Regions from separate parts of the Homo sapiens genome. Here regions 2 and 3 are each linked to region 1. The links are contacts of gene promoters, found by promoter capture Hi-C in blood cells and fetal thymus (Javierre and others, 2016). All regions are on one chromosome and are shown on one strand. Each heading gives the region's core, a stretch centred on a gene start or on the middle of the fragment in contact. The rest is flanking DNA. Distances are from core to core; before and after follow the strand shown.

What was found. The method cuts DNA at HindIII sites, captures the fragments that hold promoters and counts their contacts. A CHiCAGO score of 5 or more calls a contact.
Region 2: a contact is called between a fragment that was not itself captured here and the fragment with the promoter of KMT2E-AS1 in region 1, in 1 of 17 cell types (non-activated CD4 T cells). The highest score is 5.4, in non-activated CD4 T cells.
Region 3: a fragment that was not itself captured here is called in contact with the fragment with the promoter of KMT2E-AS1 in region 1 in 3 of 17 cell types (fetal thymus, total B cells and naive B cells); the score reaches 7.5 in fetal thymus.

What each region holds. Positions count from the first base shown.
Region 1 is chr7:105,012,582-105,015,968 of GRCh38, forward strand. KMT2E-AS1 (KMT2E antisense RNA 1) reads right to left here and starts at 1,560. Exons shown (of 1, transcript NR_024586.1): 1 at 1-1,560. It overlaps KMT2E (lysine methyltransferase 2E (inactive)), which reads left to right and starts at 1,624. Exons shown (of 27, transcript NM_182931.3): 1 at 1,624-1,954. RefSeq lists enhancers at 174-543, 633-1,172, 964-1,013, 1,334-1,453, 1,714-1,943 and silencers at 1,164-1,213, 1,564-1,653. The HindIII fragment of the contact is 4,615 bases long and covers 1-2,651 here.
Region 2 is chr7:106,019,908-106,023,008 of GRCh38, forward strand. CDHR3 (cadherin related family member 3) reads left to right here. Exons shown (of 19, transcript NM_152750.5): 13 at 466-637; 14 at 2,291-2,541. Among named protein-coding and RNA genes, the nearest start is that of CDHR3, 58 kb to the left of the region's middle. The HindIII fragment of the contact is 3,503 bases long and covers 1-3,101 here.
Region 3 is chr7:106,067,702-106,070,713 of GRCh38, forward strand. No RefSeq gene overlaps it. Among named protein-coding and RNA genes, the nearest start is that of SYPL1, 43 kb to the right of the region's middle. The HindIII fragment of the contact is 5,331 bases long and covers 1-3,012 here.

The sequences.
Region 1 (3,387 bases), core at 310-2,809:
GTCCTGCGGGGGCTTTCCCCTGGGAGCCGCAGCTGTTCTGCCGTATGGGGGAGGGGAACGCTTTCCAACAGTCATCTCTTCCTCTTCAGGCCGCCAACGCCGACCGCACCACAGTCTCCTCCGCCCAAGCCCTGTCCCCTCCCCCGCCCCGGCCTGGGTCGGAGCCAAACCCCACAGGAATGCAGCCCGGTCACATGCGCTGCGGCGGTGGACGTGCCTCTCCCCCCGCGCCCCAAAGAGACCCAGCGCCATCTTGCCCTGACGCAGTTACAAAAGTCACGGGAGAAATCCTGTCTCCTCCTCCGCGCCAGCGCCCCAAAGTTTTGCAGAGGCCGAGCCGGGGCCCTCACCTCGCGCAGGGACAGTAGAAAATGGTCAGGGAAGAGCCTTGCGATTCCCTTCGCCACTGCTTGGGTTCCATATCGGCCGCGGCAGCAACGATCACCATCGTCACTTCTCCCTCTCTACCTTTGCAACAGCCTCCCCCTACGGCTTTGGCCCCACCCGCTGCTGCAGGATGAGGTCATCGCCAGCCAACCACGACGCGCCCGACAGGACACATCAGGCGCTGATTGGCTGCCGAGACCGCCTCTGCCTCTCCCCACTCCGCTTCCCCCAGCGCTCTGGGTCGCTGCGGGGCAAGGGGAAGACGGAAACCATTTCGGGGAAAGACCCCCAAAACAAGAGCCGGAATCGCCGTGTCATTTTAGTGGGGAAACCCTTCTTTTATTCTTTGGTCTCCCCCTTTTTTCTTCGAGATCACTGTCTGTCCCTCCCTCGTTTAATCACCGCCATATAAAGGAATTCCCACTCCCCTCCCCGCACATTGTCCCACCGGTGGGGAAATCCTTCCCCGAGGCCAAGAGAAGTATAGGAGGCAGCGACGGCAACTGCACCGACGGCAACGGCAGCTTTTTACCCCGAAGCACGGTGGCAGGGAGGCGGCGTTGACGGTGGCTGCATTTTTCCGGCTGCTTCTCCCCCCGACCTCTTCCGTTTCTTGCTCCTCCATCGAGACAGCACTAGACTCGCCAGCTCCGCTTTTATCCGGTGCCCGGAGCCTGCGCACTGGAGCCTCCTCAGCCCCTAGTGGGCGTCGAGTGACACCCCAACCGGGTTCACCCAGCGCTGGAGGCCAGACTGGGCTGGGGGAGGAGGGGGAGAGGAACGGGGAGACGGGACTGGGGTTGTTTGGGAGGGGGAGAAGGTGTATCGCTTTCGGAGGGTGACGGGAGGGAGTTCGTTCCCAAGCCCTGCTGTCCTTGTTCGTGCACCCAATACTGGCATGCCCAAGCTCACCTATATCCAGACTTGAGGGCCACTGGGGGAAAGGGGGAAAGAACCAGTCCCACCGAATACCGACACTTCCTCAAACCTTCGGTGGATTGTTGAATGCATCTGTTGTCAGAAAGACAGAGATTCCGTCCCCCTCACCGCCTCCAGTTTGCTATCTTCGAGCCTCCGCGGAGAGGCAACGGCGGGCGGCAGCCCACAAGCAAAATGGCGCCGGGCAGCTTCATCCCCTCCCCCTCTGCCCCTGCGGAGCGGGACGGGCGTACCCCGTGCACTTGCCGCCGCCGCCGCCGCCGCCGCGGCCGCCGCCGCCGCCGCCGCCATTTTCCCAGAGCGAGAGGCAGTGACACTGAGCGGGCGCAGGGGGCCGAGTCGGAGACCGTGCCGGAGTTCGGGAGCGGCAACAGAGTGGGCATAGACACTCCGAGCAGCCTCGCCGTCGTCTCTGCGTTCCTGTTGACTGCCTGGCTGCCCCCTCCCCTACTCCTCGGTTCCTGGTGAAGAGGCTGCGCGCTGCTGTTTGGGGAGGGGGTGTGTGGAGCCGGGTCCTGTGTCCGCAGTGGCTGCTGTCGGGGGGTCGCCTGTTCGCGGAGGTGCGGAGAGACTCCTTGGGGGTCGAGCACATAACGGGGTTCGGGTGTCTCGTGTGTGAACATCACAGGTTAGTGCCTGTCGTCTCCATGGGAGTTCCTGGGGCTTGCGGGGTTGGGGTACTTGTGTTTCAAGGGGGAGGGAGGTCTCTCATCTTTATCCTTAAGCTGGGGGAGCCGACGTTGACTCTCAGGTGTCTTTGCCGGCGCAAGACGTTGCTTGCTTAAATCGAATTTATTCTTTCTTCTCCCTGACCCTAGAAATGGAGCATTATGGCGGGTTTTAGGGTTGGGAAAGGGGTAACTGGCAGTTAAACCCCCTTGAGAGTGGGGGAGTTAGGGAGGGGGCGCACTCCTCATTGGCAGCGGGTTAAGGCCGCTTGAGTGAAGACGGAGGCTTGTGACTGTTAGTAGGGTTTGTGTCGAAGTGGTCCCAGGAGCTGCCAGCGCTCCCTTTTCTCAACCGCGTCTTGTTCAGGTGCTGAAAAGCCATATAGGCCCCATTTTCTTCTTCCATTTCTTGACGGGCAGTCTCTGGTATAATGTGCACATGAATACGAAGGGGGTAAGAAGAACGCCCTGGGCATCTCTCTTTGTGGGAGAGCGAGACAGCTAGCTCCTCATCCTCTCCTGGAGAGGGTAAACCCGCCCCTGAAGTGGTCACCCCAGTACCCAGCCTTCTCAGTCTCCTCCCCCACTCCTTTTGCATTACCGCCGTCCTTTACTGTGCCGGAGCCTTAGGATCTACAATATGGCTCATTTCAGAAAAGCTTATTTTGACCAAGGGATTGGCACAAATTCTATGGCAGCAGACACAGATGAGAAACAAACGGTTCACTGTGCTAAACGGGGTGGGGGTGAGAAAAAAACAATCCAGAGTGCTCTCTTCTACTGGCCTTAGTTCCGTATAGATCCGTCCTTGCTGGGCTCTGTCTTAAGAACGATACAATTTAAAGTCAAAGAGGAATCGCTAGAGTTAGCTCTAGAGTAAACCTCGTTTTGCCTATTTTGTTCCCTTTTTAGAGATGTGAATAAGGTAAGGTGTTTGGAGTTCTGGAGACCTTGGAGAGAATTAAGTGAGGTGCATTCAACTCGAGGCTGGAGACATGAATACCTATTTGGAAAATAGTCTGTTTTTTTCCTTCAATTTCTGAGATGGGGAGTAAAAACTGAAATTTCCCTCTTTTGTCCTTTACAGATTCTAAAAATGGCGGCCCCAGGCTGATGTTGTGGTAATCTAATCAGCTCGGGTCCTCCACACCCCATGCAGTGCGTTTGTCTGCAGCATATTACAGGCTTATTATGTTTACATGAAAAGACTGGGCTGTTTTTCCTTCCCCGAGCCAGTTACAAAAATGTGTTGATTTTTTACTGCAAATTACAGTGCTGTGTTTTAGCTGATTAATTTGATTCGTTTTTCCTGAAAGGCAAATAAAATGTCTCCACTTTTGAAAAAAAAAAACAGCCTTGCAAATTTCAGTGGTGATGATGGGTGCGCTTCAAC
Region 2 (3,101 bases), core at 122-2,621, 1.0 Mb after region 1:
CCAGAGTTAAAGAAGTTCCATTTACAAGGGGCAGCAGGCAAGGTGGCACATGGAGACACCGTAAATCCACACCTTCCTGGAAAAACAACTCGGTGTCATCTGCAGGTGAGCCTATGTGTCCAGGTGCATGTGTGTGTGTGTGGGGGGGGGGCAAGGTATACATACACTAAATGTGCACACACACATGCATATGGTGTAGAAGTTAATAGCATAGGATTTGGAGTAGGACAGACCTGAATTCAAATCCCAACTCTGCCATTCACTAGCTGAATGATCTTAGATCAATTACCTAGTCTCTCTAAACTTCCATTTTCTCACCATAAAATGGGAATAATCATGTTAGCTATCTCATGTGAGTTTAAATGAGCTAATTTATGAAAAGTGCTTAGCCTGAAAACTGCCTACACACAGTAAGCACTCAATGAGTTTTAGCTATTGAGAATGACCACCTTCTTGCTACTCTAGGTTACTGTGAACATCCTTGAAGAAAATGATGAAAAGCCAATTTGTACTCCAAACTCTTATTTCCTGGCCCTCCCAGTGGATCTGAAAGTTGGCACAAATATTCAGAATTTCAAGCTGACATGTACCGACCTTGATTCCAGCCCCAGATCTTTCCGTTATTCCATTGGCCCAGGTATAGTACTTGGTGTCGACAATCCTGGCCCTGTCTCTGAGGACCCTGAAGTTGTCTAGGGTAGGGGTCTGTGCTCACACACTGATCTGGGCAAAGTGGGATGGGAGTTGGGAGGGCATTATTTTTTTGAGATAGGGTCTTGCTATGCTGCCTAGGCTAGTTTTGAACCCCTGGGCTCAAGTAATCCTCCTGCTCAGCCTCCCAAGTAGCTGAGACTACAGGCATGCCTCATTGCACCCAGCTTGCTGGGGAAGTATTTGAATGAGGAAAGCAGAGACACAAAATCTAGCAGCCCCTATGCTTCCTGGCACTCCTCTCAGTTTCCCCTTCTTGTCTTACTCCTCCCAGACCCCATACGTGACTGCCCAAAGGCCCAAGAAAAGGGTGAACCCCCCAATTCCTGACTACAGTATGAGTCATAAAGCATATTAGTGTTGTTAGAAAAAATGCAGTCCAACTTTTCGACCACCTCTTTTCCTGAAAGCTGGTAGTGGGGGCAGGGAATCCCAGTCCTCTCTCTGGATAATAATAGATTAAATAGATTAAGTGCGTTTTGAAACGTGTCCTCAGGAATTCTCTTCTGCTCCATTCATCTTCTGTCTTTAAAAATATACCATCGTAGGGAAAAAAGAGCACCCCTCAATGGAAATTAGACCAAAATAGCTCATCTAATGAAGTGCTGGGGCCAGAGATTTAAACCCAAACAAGCAGAACAATTCCACGTGAGAGAGTAAAAATCCATCCCTGCTGCCTGCTGTGCCCTTGGCCGAGCAGGAACTTGAACAGTAGGAAGCCTCTCGAGCTGGCTGTGTCACAAAACCCAGGGGCAGAAACTGCCTCGAGACTGCAGTTGCCGAAGATGGAAACAATCCATACTGAGAGCCCTAAGGCCTTTATGGAGCATTTTGCTGTTAAGGGAGCAAAAATTGCATCATCTCCTGCTCCATTTACTGGTGTTCAGTCGGTAATGAGTCTGGAGCCAGTGGAGGAATGAGCGGGCATGTGCTTGGGCTGGCAGCCTCTCTGCCCCAGGCTCCCTGAGCTGAGCCATGAGCCCCAGCAGAGCTGTGTGTGTGTTTGGGGGTGTGATGGGGTGGGTTCAGGAGGACCTGGGACTGCAATTCCCGCAAAGCCAGGAGGCACCTTCCTTTGGAGGACTCCAGGGACAGCCATAACCAGTGTGACCCACTGGGTCCTGTGAAAAGCATGCAGTGAACTTGGCCTATGGCTAGGGATGTGACCTATTCTACCCTCTTGAAACCCACTCATTTGTTTGAGTGTGAATTACACGTGTTGTTACCAAATAATTGCCGGATGAGAAATCAGAAGGGGCTGCACCAGGGTTACAAAGTCTCTGCTTAATACTCAGCAAGATGGCACCTAGGCTAAGGGTGTTGTACTATTGTCCTTTTCTACTCAGCCTTGTTTGCAGCCACACTGGTTGTGAGCAAGAGTTTCTTTGTACTAATGCCATCTCTGGTGCAGTTAAAGCCTGTAGCATATAACTAATCCAGCTCTGGTGTATCAGAGACACAGTCTACACTTGAGGTGTGGACATTTGAGAAAAAGATTGAATGCAGTTTTCTTCTAAACCTTTATTTCTTACTCTCTTTTCTTCCTTTTACCAACACCCCTGCATCAAATCTCATTTAGGTAACGTCAACAATCATTTCACCTTCTCTCCCAATGCTGGTTCCAATGTCACACGCCTGCTGCTTACATCTCGCTTTGACTATGCTGGTGGGTTTGATAAGATCTGGGACTACAAGCTACTTGTCTACGTAACTGATGACAACTTGATGTCTGACAGGAAGAAAGCGGAGGCTCTTGTTGAGACAGGAACAGTGACACTGAGTATTAAAGTCATTCCCCACCCAACCACTATCATCACCACGACCCCCAGGGTAAGGGCTTTAGGACCTGGAATCCCCAGGCACATTCCCTTGTGAGTTATGTTGATGGACTTCTTTCCCCGGCCTGGAGGTATGTGGGGTGGACTGAAGAGTTGAGGTATTAGGATGTTGCCAAAAATGGCAACCATGGGCTGGACTGGAGTAGCTGCAGGGTGGCAAAAATCTGGTGAGACCTCAGACTCATAACCGCTAACTCAACCACTAACATTTCCTGTTCTGGTAGAGAAGAGTGTGTTGTTTGTGCAGAGACTTGTGAGAGATCAGACCTCAACCATCTGTGTGGCTTGTGGCACAGGAGCTGATTTCCATGGGCATGCTGCCAGTTGCTACCTTCACAACCCCTCTCTGCTTGTTCAGAAGAGTCTTTGCAAGTCAATATCCATGAAATTAGGTTGCTTGCTTACTGCTGGGTGCTCTTTCCCACATCTTTTGAAGAATCACCAGGTACCAATCTGTACCCTACACCCCACCTCCGCTCCAAAAAAATTCATCCAATCTACAAATATCGATTTAATGCCTATAGTGTGCCAGTCACTTTAGCAAACAAGCCA
Region 3 (3,012 bases), core at 147-2,646, 1.1 Mb after region 1:
GCCAAAAGACAGCAGCTGCAAAAAGGACTTGGACAAGAAAGTTTATTGCAGCTTTATTCCAAACAACCCAGATGCCCATCAACAGGAGAATGGTAAACAAATTATGGCATATTTATACGATGGAATATTACACAGTTATAAAAACAGCAAATTTTTGAAATGTGAACCTCACAGTCATGATGTTGAAAGAAACAAGACACAGATAAAAAAGTACATATTGTGTAATTCTATTTATAATGGAGTTCAAGAATCAGCAATGTTAATCCTAGATGACGGAAGTCAGATAGCAGTTACCTTTGGGTAAGCATGCTTACTTTGGACTTGGAAGGGGCACAGATAGCTTTCTGGGGCTGTGGAAATGTTGCGAATCTTGGTTTGGGTAGTTACATGGGTGTATGCGTAGATAAACATTCACAGTGATGTGCGCTCAAAATTGTGCATTTTATGGGACATAAATTAAAAACGTAAAAATATTGAAAAACAGAAATTGGAGAAGTGTTAAAGGGTCAGGTTGAATGAGGACTGTCTAACCTGGAGCTGGCATCAGAAACAACTACCAGAAATCCCTGTAACCTGCTTCTCCTTTGGGGTCTGTGAACCGCAGGACTAAGACACTCCCACATTCTGACCCTGGCACCAGCAACAGACTACTTGCCATCGGATTGATGTCGAGAAATGATCACAGGATAACAGCTCTTCTCACGGTTCAGCAGATAATAGTAAGTCAAACTTTTGCCCCAGTTGAACATCCTATCTCTAAGTATACCCCCCATTTCCTCTGAACCCCCCTAAACCATTTGCCAGTCACCCAAATCACCATCTGTGACCACTACTCCCCTGCATTCTACATCCAATCAATCACCAAGCCCTGTCAATTCTCCTTACTTGATAGCTTTAACACTCCTCCACTCCTCTCCAGCCCAGTGTCTTAAATCCACACTAACATCCTCCTTCTAGATGATGCGCCCACCTCCCACCTGCTCTCCCAGACTCCTGTGGTCTTGCCCTCCCTTCAATGAACTTGCCAGCTGCTGAAGGGATCATGGCCCTAAAATGCAAATCATAGAATACTTAAAAGAATTTCTAAACCTCCCAGGATTCACCCAGGCTCCTGGCATGGCTTACAGGCTGTAACCCATGATGCAAACCAGGCTTGCCTGTCCTGACAGCCTCATCTCTCTATGCGGGGCACTGTCCTAAGTGGTAGAATTAATTACAGCAGTGAATGAAACAAAGTTCCTTCGCCGATGGGATTTGCCATTTTGTAGGGAAGTACAGACAACAAACAAACAAATATATGAGATGATGTGGTATACATGTGAAAGACAGAAAAGCAAGATAGGAGACAGGGAGTGATGTGGGATTCTGTGTCAGCTGGGATGGTTAAGGAAGGCCATTCTAATGAGATCACATTTGGGCAGAAGCCTGAAGGAAGAGGCTGCTTGCCACCCCACACAGCAAGGGTGTGCCACAGTCATCTGCTCTCCTGGCAGTTCCGAGAGCAGGCTGGGCTCCCCTAGGCCTCTGGGCCTGTGCACGCACACTTCCTCTCCCTGCAGCATTCCATACCATCAAGAACTGAGATCTTATCTCATGTGCAGGTAATAATCACACATGCCAAAATTTCACGGATGTTGGTAGAAGACATGAGGCTCCTGGGTCAGAGAAGAAGGACAGTTTCTTCACTTCCAGTAATAGTAACAGCCAGAGTGGCAGCATTTTTGCACTGGTTTTCTGACCCCAGGTGACCCAACACCACCATTCAGTGAGATAGATGAAGTCTAAATAAGAGAGTAAACCATTGTGGAAGGCATTGAAACCATAAAAAGTAAGATGAGAACAGTTGAGAAAAAGACACTTAGAATTGACTGCAACATTTACAGAGTTTTGGTGTCAGCAGAGGCCTTAGTATTAGGTGATGGAAGCCCGCCACTGTAAGGTTCCCGCCCTTGAGAATCTGCTCAGGACCAGCTGGTGAGATGGACGTGTCAGCAGATAAATTGCAAGGCTGTGCTCTCAAGCTCTAGTGCACAAAGGACTATGGGAGCCCATAGAATGGGTAGGAGGAGGCCATTCAAGCTAAATCTTGACAGATGGGCAGGAATTCATCAGAAAGACTTAAATATTGGTCTTGAAAATAGCACTGCATACAAGAAAAAAACACATGCATTTATGAGGCAAGAGTCCCTGAAGTTTCACATTTACACAAAATGATGTGTGTCTTTTGGTGGGGGAAGCGGATGTGAAATTCCCTACAGATAAGCCCAGGCTAGCTGACCAGATGAGGTGAGATTTCTTTCAGGTACTGCCTAAGCAATCAATGGCCAGAGAGGGCTGCGGGGCTGGGCTGCTGGGCTGCGAGGCTGCTGGGTGCTGAGGGAGCAGGGGGAATGTTCCCTGGGGTGTGGCTGGCCATGGTGCTCGCCATCCTGGAACAAATCAACTGAGGCGCAAATCTGCAGCACCTTTGCCACAGCCAGAATCCACGGTGGTTCCTCCGTGAGCACATGCCCTGAATTCCACCTGGCCTGTGCGTCATGCTCAGTTGGCAGGATATCAGAACCAATGCTGCCAACACCAGACTCTCCACGTGCGGAGCAATTTATGAAACCCTGGGGCCAGCAATGGCCACCTTTGCATCCTGGAGTTAGGATGACCCTGACACATCCCAGCCCCAGCATACACCACCGCGCTGCCCTGAGGCTGGGCTCTACCTTTTGAGAGCTACTGAGCTCTGCAGAGATGTGGGTGAAGGGAGCCACAGACATATCAGTCTGGCAGGGGCTTAGAGTCACTGCTCTAACTGCCTATCTGGCAGGTGAAGAAACAGAGGCCAGGGCAGGCAAGCCCTGACCAGGGCAGTGTACCTGCTTGGTAGACGAGTTCTCTCCTTCCCCCAGTGCAGTGCCTACTGTCTCTCTTTAGCTGTGCCTAGCTGGGTTGGGGTCTTTTCTCTGGGCTTCCCTAACCACTCCTGCTGACCCCTATCTGAGCTCCAACTTCTCCCTGGAA